Regions from separate parts of the Homo sapiens genome. Here all the other regions are linked to region 1. The links are contacts of gene promoters, found by promoter capture Hi-C in human tissues and cell types (Jung and others, 2019). All regions are on one chromosome and are shown on one strand. Each heading gives the region's core, a stretch centred on a gene start or on the middle of the fragment in contact. The rest is flanking DNA. Distances are from core to core; before and after follow the strand shown. Region 1 holds the start of SYNDIG1L (synapse differentiation inducing 1 like). Region 2 has its middle 6.9 kb from the start of VRTN. Region 3 overlaps LTBP2 (latent transforming growth factor beta binding protein 2).

What was found. The method cuts DNA at HindIII sites, captures the fragments that hold promoters and counts their contacts. A contact is called where the count stands out against the background at its distance.
Region 2: a fragment that was not itself captured here is called in contact with the fragment with the promoter of SYNDIG1L in region 1 in 4 of the 25 tissues and cell types used here (liver, mesendoderm cells, spleen and 1 more).
Region 3: a contact is called between a fragment that was not itself captured here and the fragment with the promoter of SYNDIG1L in region 1, in 2 of the 25 tissues and cell types used here (lymphoblastoid cells and small bowel).

The regions. Positions count from the first base shown.
Region 1 is chr14:74,424,134-74,427,954 of GRCh38, forward strand. It overlaps SYNDIG1L (synapse differentiation inducing 1 like), which reads right to left and starts at 2,077. Exons shown (of 4, transcript NM_001105579.2): 1 at 1,779-2,077. The HindIII fragment of the contact is 14,133 bases long and covers 1-3,821 here.
Region 2 is chr14:74,339,672-74,343,492 of GRCh38, forward strand. It overlaps a transcript of VRTN not described here. Among named protein-coding and RNA genes, the nearest start is that of VRTN, 6.9 kb to the right of the region's middle. The HindIII fragment of the contact is 9,025 bases long and covers 1-3,821 here.
Region 3 is chr14:74,500,660-74,504,480 of GRCh38, forward strand. LTBP2 (latent transforming growth factor beta binding protein 2) reads right to left here. Exons shown (of 36, transcript NM_000428.3): 31 at 3,267-3,395; 32 at 2,810-2,947; 33 at 2,560-2,727; 34 at 1,994-2,275; 35 at 782-931; 36 at 1-370. The coding sequence ends at 225. Among named protein-coding and RNA genes, the nearest start is that of ISCA2, 8.8 kb to the left of the region's middle. RefSeq lists enhancers at 1-440, 1,850-2,544 and a silencer at 127-421. The HindIII fragment of the contact is 5,883 bases long and covers 1-3,821 here.

The DNA of each region.
Region 1 (3,821 bases), core at 827-3,326:
GCATCCTGTATTCAAGCAGAATTGAGGGGTTTATGGGTTTAGGACAGCCTCAGAAAGCCCTACAGAATATCAGGGCTTGAAATCTTAACTCATCTAGCCCAACTCTCTTCTTTTACAGATGAGAAAAATGAACCCCCAGAGGGGAATGGACCTGCCTGAGACAGCGGCGGATCTGTGACCAGAACACAGGGCTTCTGACTCCCAGTTAAATGCTTTTATTCTGATACACTTTAACATTTCATTCCCTCATTTTACACCCGATTACCGAGTCCTTACTATCTTCCAGGTGCTGTTGGGGAGGGGGTCATGAAGGGGGACAAAGAGATGAAAACAACACAATTCCTGCCTTCAGGGAGCTCTTTCCCTAGATCTGTGGTTCTTAGGGAGAAAAAATAAAAACCGGTGAGTCAGACTCTTACCTTATATTATCTCCTATAGGTGATGATGGAAGAGGAGAAGAAGGGAGGGCACACTTTTTTCTCCTTAAGGTTTATAAGTTTGGCTTCACTGATTCTGGGACCCCACGGTGGCCAAGGACAAAGGGAGACATGGCCATGCTGGGAGAAGAGGGGGTAGGGGTGACAATAATCAGGTCACTGACAGCAGGCCTGGCTAGGGGTTGGGAACAGTGACAGCAGCGCACACTGGTATGGAGATGTACAGGTGGCAAGCCTCCAATCAGGTGCATTGTTTTTCATTGGGCCCCAAGGCAGTTCCCTGAGGTGAGCAGAGCGGTGACCTTATCCCCACTCCAGGGGTGAGGAGGATGAGGTTGAAAGAGCTTAGGGAACTAGCTAAAGCCAGTAAATGCCAGCACCCAGCCAGGAACTCCTACTCTAGTGCTCTTTCTACCCCTGGGGGTAGGGAAGTTGTGTTGGGTTGGAGGGTGGGGATAAAGCAGTAGAAAGAAGTGGTCAGCCACAAGGGTAGGCCAATTCTTCCTCCACGCAGTTTTATTTTGATCGCTACATTCTGCCAGTCATAGAGAACTCTGCTCTGAAGAACTAGAAGCACTTTGCAGGCCTGAATGAGCTCATTCAGCGCACTCTTGCCAGAAAGAGAGAGAACTCCTAATGGAGGCTCTGTCTAGGGTCACCAGCACATAATAGAAAACAGGACCCAGGTTCCCTGACTCTTTGCCCTCATGCGCCAAGAGATGTGATGCAAATCCTGCCTGCTTCTGTGAGCGTCAAGAGTGTCATAGGAAAAAAAATTGAGGTATCTTCCAGGACCTCCTTCCTTCCCTGAAGAAATGGGTTAATCCATCCTAAGGGGCCTTGGCCCAAGAGCCAATCCCTTGGCCCAAGAGCCATTTCCAGGGCAGAGAAATCTCAGAGCAGGGGGTACCACAGCCACCTCAGTCACCTGGGTGAACAGGTTTGGGTGCGAGAAGAGGGGAGCTTAGTGAAGCCTGCTCAGATTTTGCTAGTGTCGCAAAACCTTGGTGGGGACTGGGGTACCAGGGAGTCTGAGGCTCTAATCAGTATTTCTTGCCGTCAGTAGGCAGGATGTCTAGGAGCTGCCTGAGGTCAGGGTCAAGGCCTGATGTTGTGAGGTTATGGTGTCTTGACCCCAGTTCATCAGCCCCCTCCCAGCACCCCCAGCCTGCAGGATGAGGGGTAGGGAGGGACGAAGTGCAAGCCTTGGCGGAGCGCAAGGTGCGGCCAAGCAGGGAGTCAGAGCCCCTAGCCCCGAGAGGGCTCCCGTGCCCTCCCCAGCTCACTCCCCGCTCCGTGCCTAGCTCTGCGCTCCCGCGGCGCCCCCAGACCGCCCCTTACCTGTCCCGCCGCGGACGGTCCCGCCTCCTCCGCGGGGCTCGGGGGCTCGGCATGGGCCGGTGAGCGACGGCGCCCCCGCCTCGCGGTCGCGGTGGAACTCCCAGGAGGGCTCCCCTGCTCTCGTCCCCGCGTCCCTGAGCAGCCGCCGCTTCAGCACCGCGGACAGCTCCCGCCCGCAGCCCGCCGCCGCCGCCCGCCCCGCCCCGCGCGGTCCCGGGAGCCCCGCATCCTGGCCGGGCCCCGCCGCCGCCGCCGCCGCGCAGCCCTCGGCCCGGCCCGAGGCGGCTCCGCGCCGACTTGGGAGAGCAGCGAGGAGGGTCCCCCTCCTTCCCGCCTCCCGCCGCCGCCGCCTCCCTCTCGCTTCCGTGCTCCGTGCTCCCTTCCACGCTCCGGAATCAGCCCACCAGGCACTCCGGACCCGGCTCCGGGGCGGGGCGGGGCGGGAAGTCGGGGGAGCCCGGAGGAGGCGGCGAAGCGAGGGGCGCGCAGCTGGAACCCGCGTACCCGCTTCCTGGAGCCGAGCCCTCTTTCCCAGCCCTTCTCTCCCCTCCTCCCGCGCACCCCAGAGCGATGGGAGGCCCTTGGGCTTCTTGAAGCATTTTGGAGCTCCTAGGCTCCAAAGCCAGCCCTGAGTTTTTAACATTGATCTGCCCTAAAAAGAAAAACAAACAGAAAGCATTTATTGAGCACCTACTATATACCAGATACCAAGCCCGATAATGTGTTTAATCAACATAAGCTCATTTAATTTTCTTAACAACTCTATTAGGCAATATAGTGCCCCTCTTCCCCTCTTCCCCTCCCCCTGCCCCCCTCCCCCTGTCCCCCTTCCCCCTCCAATTTTGCAGACCAGGACGCTGGGCTCACAAGGATGAAATCCTGTGATTTGGAGATTCAGTGCTGTGCTGGGAAGGGCACAGGTTTTAAAGCTCATGGACCTAAGTTTTGGTCCTAGGGTCCCACTTGCTGTATAACCTCGAGCAAGTTACCTAACCTCTTAAAGCCTCAGGTTCCTCATGGACAAAGTGAGGGGTCATATGAGGACAAAATGAGATGACATACGTGACACATTGGCACTCAATAGGCACTCAGTGAGTGAGCGTCCCCCTGAGTTTTCCCAGCAAGAGCCCTGAGATCCGAATGCAGGCCTTTTGGCTGCTTTGTCTCCACCCTGTGCTGCTCTTTATCCACCTCCACCTGCGTTTCCTTTTTTTTTTTTTTTTTTGCATGGGGATGCCCTATCTTGAGTGTTACCAGTGGATGAACCTATTCTTCGAGCGCCTTCACAAGGTCTTGAGTCTCACCAAAGTCCCAGGAGGTCAGGAGGAGAGAGTATTCTCATTTTCTGAAGGTAAGTGTGGGTTTGCAAAGTAAACCACAGAGCAGGCTGCAGCTGGGGCTGGAAGACACAAGGAACCAGGGTCTGGCAGTGGGATTCCACTAGCATCCACTAGTCTCCTAGCATCCAGCTGAGGATGCTATAGCACATAGCATGGTGGACTCCAGGACTCCTTCACTCCCACAGGATGTGGGCATCTGGCACAGTTCGGTGTAGCTCCTAGAGTGCACAGTAGGAGCCAGGAGCAAGTCCACATCATGGGGCTTGGGTCTCCTTCCCTTCAAGGCAGGACAGAGAACTCCCTTATCCTGGGGTCTGTCTCAGGGCTGGTATTGGTGTTTAACTTGTTGGGTGCTAAATATATTATTGCTCTTCCTGTCTCTGCCCCATTAGTGGATAATGCAGTGAGAAGCCCCCTGAGGCCAGCAAGGGTCTTGGACCACTCATCTCAGGCCCATACTTCATCTTCACAGACACCCTCCTCCTCAAAACACAGACATACAGACACACACACAACACAGACACACATAGACACACACAGACACACACACAAGACATTGTCTCTGATGTCAGGCCACCCTCCTGTACCTTTGCTTTCTCTGGCCTTCCTCTCACAGGGGCTCATGGCCACCTACTTGGCCTTGGCCTCCCTCTGCTGCTCCCCTCCCCACCCTGGCTGTGCTCCATGCCTGGGCTGCATACTG
Region 2 (3,821 bases), core at 451-2,950, 85 kb before region 1:
GGCATGGTGGCACATGCCTGTAGTCCCAGCTACTTGGGAGGCTGAGGCGGGAGGATCGATTGAGCCCAGTATTTTGAGGCTGCAGTGAGCTGTGATTGCACCACTGAATTCCAGCTTGGGCAACAGAGAAGACCCTGTCTCAAAAACAGAAAATAAAAGAAGCTAGGAGAACATGTCATAAAAGTAAGACTAGCAGTAATTGGATTTAAGGCCTTTGTTTACAGTGAATATAATAGGTGTTTGTTGTGTTGTAGAATGAATGAGAAGCCTTTTCTTTTTTTTGAGATGGAGTCTCACTCTGCTGCCCAGGCTAGAGTGCAGTGGCATGATCTCAGCTCACTGCAACCTCTGCCTCCTGGGTTCAAGCAATTCTCCTTCCTCAGCCTTCCCAATAGCTGGGAATACAGGTGTGTGCCACCACACTCAGCTAATGTTTGTATTTTTTTTTTTTTTTTTTTGAGACGGAGTTTTGCTCTTGTTGCCCAGGCTGGAGTGCAAGGGCACGATCTCAGCTCACCGCAACCTCCGCCTCCCAGGTTCAAGCGATTCTCCTACTTCAGCCTCCCTAGTAGCTGGGATTATAGGCATGTGCCACCACGCCCGGCTAATTTTGTATTTTTAGTAGAGACGGTGTTTCTCCATGTTGGTCAGGCTGGTCTCAAACTCCTGACCTCAGGTGATCCACCCACCTCGGCCTCCCAAAGTGCTGGGATTACAGGCGTGAGCCACCGCGCCCGGCCATGTTTGTATTTTTAGTAGACACGGGGTTTCACCATATTGGTCAGGCTGGTCTTGAACTCCTGAGAGGTGATCCGCCTACCTCCGCCTCCCAAAGTGCTGGGATTACAGGCGTGAGCCACCATACCCGGCCAATGAGAAGCCTTTTGAGTTTCAACTCTCACACTCTAAAGTCTAGAGTTCAGTCTGTAGACATCATTGTATTCCTGGGGCTAGCCTGGAACCTGGCACATATTAAGAGCTCAAATATCTGTTGAATGAATGACTGAATGTATGAATAAATGCACAAGTGAATAAATAAATGATTGAATGAATGATGAATTATATGAAATAACAATTTATTTTTATTTTTATTTTTTGAGACGGAGTCTTGCTCTGTCGCCCAGGCTGGAGTGCAGTGACGCAATCTCAGCTCACTGCAGCCTCTGCCTCCTGGGTTCAAGCAATTCTCCTGCCTCAGCCTCCTGAGTAGCTGGAGTACGCGCAGCCACTCCCGGCTAATTTTTGTGTTTTTAGTAGAGACGGGGTTTCACCATGTTGGCCAGGATGGTCTTGATCTCCTGACCCTGTGATCCGCCTGCCTCGGCCTCCCAGAGTGCTGGGATTACAGGTGTGAGCCACCGTGCCCAGCTGAAATAACAAATTATTTAACAAGTCATTGAGTGAATGAATTAATTGATGGGACAGATGGATGAATTCTTTAAATCTCTGTAGAAAGAAGGTGAGTAGGGAAGAGAATAACTGAATAGCAGCACTATTTACTGAGCATTTCATTATTAGACCAGTGCTAAGAATTTCACAGTTTTTCCATTTAATCCTCACAGCAACCTCTCTGGGGTTGTTACCATCATTTTCTAAGAGAGCAATTAGATCTGGGGAGGCCAGGTAATTTACTCCATGTCCCACAGGGCAAAGCTGGAATACTGACCCTATCATACTCCAAAATTTAGACTTTTTACCACCCAATCAATGTCCTGTTCAACATAGGACTTGCTTTTAGTAGCTGATGCAAGTTCAGGTGAGCCACCACTTACACAACCCCTGGAAAGCTGTAAATTTAAACATAAACATTGTTAATTACTTCTTTAAAGCTTTTCTATTGCATGTCTCTTTATTTATTTATTTTGAGACAGAGTTTTGCTCTTGTTGCCCAGGCTGGAGTGCAATGGCACCTTCTTGGCTCACTGCAACCTTCGCTTCCTGGGTTCAAGTGATTCTCCTGCCTCAGCCTCCAGAGTAGCTGGGATTACAGGCGCCCAGCACCATGCCCAGCTAGTTTTTGTATTTTTAGTAGAGATGGGCTTTCACCATGTTGGCCAGGCTGGTCTCGAACTCCTGACCTCAGGTGATCCACATGCCTCGGCCTCTCAAAGTGCTGGGATTACAGGCGTGAGCCACCACACCTGGCCGCATGTCTTTTTGTAAGTGAAGGATTACCCCCAACTCCTCTGCTTCTGAAATCTGAATTTTGTTCAAAGCGAGGTATATATTAACTAAAGATGTCTACTTGTGGAAGCTGGTTTAGTTATTGCTGGGAAACTGGGATTTTGGTGTTTGAACACCTTAATAACCAGGCCCTTAATTTTGTGACATCTCATCTTGACAGTTTAAATAAAAGTAAATTAAAATTTACCAAATCCCAAACCCATTAAAGAAAAGACAGATACGTCAGTCCAGGAGTTTGAGATCAGCCTGGGTATGGTATGCTCCTGTTCCTCAGGAGGCAGAGGCGGAGGCAGAGGCAGAAGAATCCCTTGAACTCAGGAGTTCGAGGCTGCAATGAGCTGTGACTACACTACTGCATTCCAGCCTGGGTGACACAGCAAGACCCTGCTTCAGAAAAAAAAAAAAGACAAGACAGATTTGTACCATATCTGTTCGGACTGTGGTTCAAAGTCCAACTAGGAACCACAAATTCAGAAAAAATATTTCTAATTCCTGTCATCAACCAAGGACTGTCTTAATATATCCTACATTTATTTCTGAGGGCTTGTGCAAAATAAAACTATACATGTATGTGTATGTAAATATGTGTATATATGTATTCGTGTATATATGTATATGCGCACATACACGTGAATGTATATATGTGTATGTGTGTGCATATATGTGTACATATATATACACACATATACACACTGTACAAAGCTCTGACAAATCAATAAGAAAAAGGGCTATAATCCAATAGGAAAATGGGCAAAGGATATTCAAAGGAAAAAAACACAAATGGCTTTTTTTTTTTCCTTGAGACAGGGTCTCACTCTGTCACCCAGACTGGATTGCAGTGGTGTGATCACAGCTCACTACAACCTTGAACTCCTCAGCCTCCCAAGTAGTTGGGACTACAGGCGCATGACACCACACAGGGCTAACTTTTTCTTTTTTACTTTTGTGGAGACAAGGTCTCACTGTGTTGCTCAAGCTGGTGTTGAACTCCTGGGCTCAAGTCCTCCTGCCTTGACCTCCCAAAGTTCTAGGATTACAGGTGTGAGCCACCACGCCAGTCTAAAAGGCTCTTACATATATGAAAAATGCTCTTTCATCATAATTTAAAAATGTAAATTAAAACTATACTGAGAAAAACAAAAAAACTATACTGAGGGAATAATTTTTCACCTATTAGATTGACAAAGATTATAAAACACTTTTTCTGATAACACATTATACTGGCAGGGTGGAGAAATTGTACTCTCATACTGTTTTCGGGAAAGTAAATTGATACAACTTTTTTTTTTTGAGACAGAGTCTTGCTCTGTGGCCAGGCTGGAGTGCAGTGCTGCGACCTTGGCTAACTGCAAACTCTACCTTCCAGGTTCAAGCGATTCTCCTGCCTCAATCTCCTGAGTAGCTGGGATTACAGGCACATGCCACCATACCCAGCTGATTTTTGTAGTTTTAGTAGAGACAGGGTTTCACCATGTTGGCCAGGCTGGTCTCAAACTCCTGACCTTGGTGATCCATCCGCCTCAGCCTCCCAAAGGGCTGGGATTACAGGCGTGAGCCACCGTGCCTGACTGGCCTGGTATAACTTCTAAGTGGGGAAATTTGCAAGATCTATACAAATTACTATTACACATACAATT
Region 3 (3,821 bases), core at 902-3,401, 77 kb after region 1:
TGAAGCATTAAAGCGATTGGTGGTGCTTGAGCCAAGCAAGGGCATGGAGGCAATGACCGAAGCTTACAGCCAGAGGCTAAGCTGGGAGAGATGAAAGCAGGCAAGGCTGATTGGAAACCTCTGGCCTGATGTCACGGTGTCTTCCCAGCTAGGAAATCATCCTCAAGGCCCCTGCCTGTGACTGGAGGCCATTTCCAGGTAGTTGCCACACTGACCCCTGACTGCTACTCCTTGGCAGTGCAGTGGGGGGGCCCTGCCTCAGCCACATATCCCGGGGAGCAGTGGCAGCGGTAGGAGCCCTCTGTGTTCTCGCAGTAACCATGGACACAGAGCACAGCAGGCCCGTTCAAGTCATCACACTCATTCACATCTAAGAGGAAACAAAGGAGAGTGCTGTAGGGAGCCCAGGTGCCTCTGCTGGCTGCCTCCACCTCTCTGGTTAGTAAGCCCTGGCCACTGCCCTAGAGTGAAACCCTAAGTGTGACAGCCAGAGGCTGAAGTCACTTCCCAAAACCAAGCAACTCAAGGACAAAGCAGGGGGCAGCAAGCTCATACCATGCCCAAGACCGTGCTCTCTTGTCCTTGTCTTTTGTCTGGGAACCTGCACGGAAGGGGCTTTCTAAAGCACATAATTAAACCTTCCTTTGGCGCTTTCTTCCCTTCCAGCCTGATGCAGACAGCCCCACTAGGAGGCAGCAGTGGCTCTTCCAGCCTTCCTGAGTTCAGGCGTCTCTGTGGGCAGTGGGCCAGCCTGACTCCTCCATCAGAATTCTGCACTTACCTACGCAGGCCATGTGGGCCGCATCCAGCTGGAAGCCCTCAAAACAGTCACAGGTGTAGCCCTCCCGCACGCGCACACAGCGGCCATTCTCACAGCCGTTCAGGATGCCGCACTCCTCCGCCTGAAGCCCTTCGAAGCCGGCTGGGGGCTCTGGGAGGAGGAAATCGGAGAGAGGAGGAGGCTGAGGGCTGTGTCCAGACTCTCCCTAATGCTGGGACCCTCGCCCTTCTGGACAAAGGGTGCCCCTGTGGAACTGTGGGGGTGGGGGCAGAGAGGATCATAAAATTCTTGTGGAAAGATGCTAGAACAAAAGGCAGTACTCTTGAAAAAAAAAGTATGTGTCATTTTAGATGGGGAGAGGTGCTCTGGGCTTCAAATGAGGGCTCCAGGGAGGCTGAGACTCGCTGCTTCCACAATGCCCGGCTCCTGCTGGGGTTTGGGTGGTCGAGGAGTGTGTTGCTACATAGTTTTTGGGTTTGGGCGTGGGGAAGGGGTGAGGTGTTTTGTTTAAACCTTCACATCGTGTTTTTGGGAAGTGGGGAACAATTGGTAGCAGAGGGGCCTCACTCAACACAAAGCAAAACATTGACCAGATCTACCTAACCCTCTTCACTCCCTAAGCACCCCTCCACCCCATGGAAAAGGCCACACCCTACCCAGAGGTATGGTTTTAGTCTGATGTGGTAGCTTTGCCTGTGGTGGGTACCGTGTGCATGGCACAGTGCTAGGCTTGACTTCCTCATTAGACTCCAAGGCCTGAGTGTTTGGATCGCACCATTCACAAACCGAGTCATCACGGTGGGCCTTTAAAGTCCTTAGAAAACCTTAATCCACACTTCAGGTCACAAGTGTGAATGCTGGGTGTCCTTAGAGCAGGTTATTCTGCAGCCTGTAGGTGGCGTGGAGGGAGAAAAAGACTGCAGTGAACAGCTTTCTCTCTCTCTCTCAGTCCCCACAGGAAGCTTGTAGGTTGGGACAGGGGCAGTGTCCTGTACCTTTTTGTGTCCCTGTGATAGTTTATGACGGAGTTGTTAGGGTCGGACCTGGGCGTATGTACTTGTCTCAAGCGAGCCGTGAACGGGGACCTCTGGCTTGGTGTGTCTTTCCCCTTCCCAGTCCTCACCCTGCTGGCAATATGACTAGCAGGTGGAGGAGATGGAAGTGAAACAGCTTTGGTGCCCACCTCTTCCCCAGTTTTGCAGCAACACAGACCTGGATGGCTGGCCACGTAGTGGGGCTGGAGTTCTGAGGGCTGCAAAGGAGACTCAAGGATGGGTGTGCGGTCCGCTGAGTGACCGGCTGTGTTGGGGAAGGCAGGCTCAGGGACGGTGTCCTCGGGGCCCAGGTAGTTGTAGAAGGGGGCCCCATCTGGGCCATAGATGCTGTAGTGCAGGTCATCGGGCCCGGGGCCATACTCATAGCCTGGCCGGAAGTGGACCCCGGCCTCCCGCTCTGCCTCAATGCGAGCCACGTTGCACAGCTGAGCATAGACCTCTGTCAGGGAGGAGGGAGAGAAGGAGCTGGGTTCTAGCTCCTGCCAGCTAAAGCCTGGCTGGCTTTGTCTCTGGGAGCATGCAAGGACTGGTACCCTCTGGGAGATCCTGGCAACATTCCTCTCCCCACCTCTCCCCTGCCCTACTTTGTCCCCAAACAGCAGGGATGGAAGACAGGGCCTTTGCTCTGCTCCTTCTTTCTAGATCCCCAGTTCCAAGGTGAGGGCATCCCCCTCCCTGGGGCCTGGCCCAGCCCTGCAGGGTATCCCCTTTGCTCCCCCTCACCAGAGCTCCTCGGGGGACACAGAGCACACTGCTGGCTCCAGGCCTCGCCGTCCTGGCAGCAGCATTCCGTGTAGGTGGTGCGGTGCCCACGCAGGGGTTCGCTGCACACATCATTGGTGACTTTTTTCCAGCAGATGTCCATGTGGATGTCGTGGTCAGGGAGGTCCTCTGGTGGCACAGGGCACGGAGGCACATGAGCCCCCCAGCCCAGGTACCCTTCTCCTGCTCCCCCACGCTCAGGCCCACTCACCCGTGCTGCTGGTGCTGTTCATGCAGCGCTGCTGGCTGAGGTCCAGGGTGAGCGGGGGGCTGCAGAAGCAGTGGAAGGAGCCCTCCGTGTTGACGCACTCGCCATTCTCACAGGCCAGGTCCTGGCACTCATCGTGATCTGGGGAGGCAGGAAAGGGTGGGGCATTGCCAAGGTGGCCTTTCCACCAACCACCCTCAGGGAAGGGTGTTTGCCTATCACTGATAATGAAGAGTTAGTGCCCTGCCTCCCTCCCCTCAACCCAGCCCAGCCTGGAAGGCCCTCCTGGGGACAATCTCTGACAGCCCACAGCTCCTTCACCTGGGACCAGCCTGCTGCAGTGGGCGGCCTCCCTAGGAAGGGGGACTCTCAGCAATAATGGGACTGGCTGGCAGGGGCTGGGTGGGCCATTATTCAGCTGTGGGCCTGGGGTGGGGGCAGGGATCATGTGTGTCCTTACCCTCACACTTCTTGTGGGAAGCATCGTAGTGGAAGCCGGGATTGCACAGGCAGACATAACCAGGCACGGTGTTGAGGCACCGGCCGTTCGGGCAGAGACCAGGCCCGAATATCACACACTCATCCGCATCTGTGGAAGGCAGAGCTGAGGTGAGAGGAAGGTGAGAGGCAGTATGAGGGGTACCTAGAGCAGGGAATCCAAAGCCAGGCTGGGTTTGAATCCCAGCTCTGCCACTTACTAGGTGGCTTTGGGCAAGTTGCTTAAGTTCGCCTTGCCTCCGGTTCCTACATACTCTTAGAGTTGTTGTAAGGATGAAAAGGTGTTAATATGTGTGAGGTGCTCAAAAAAGTGCACGGCGTGTAGCCAGCACCCAAGAAAAGCAATCTCTGTCTCCATCATTTCCTTCTCAAGACTAGCTTCAGGACTAGGGTGCTGAGGGGCGCAGTACCTGGACCATCCTACTGTGAGTGTGTGTTCCCCAGAGTTTCTGGCCTCATCAGTGCGGCCAGGGAGATGAGCGCAGCCTCTGGCCTCTAGAGCAGTGCTCTCCACTCT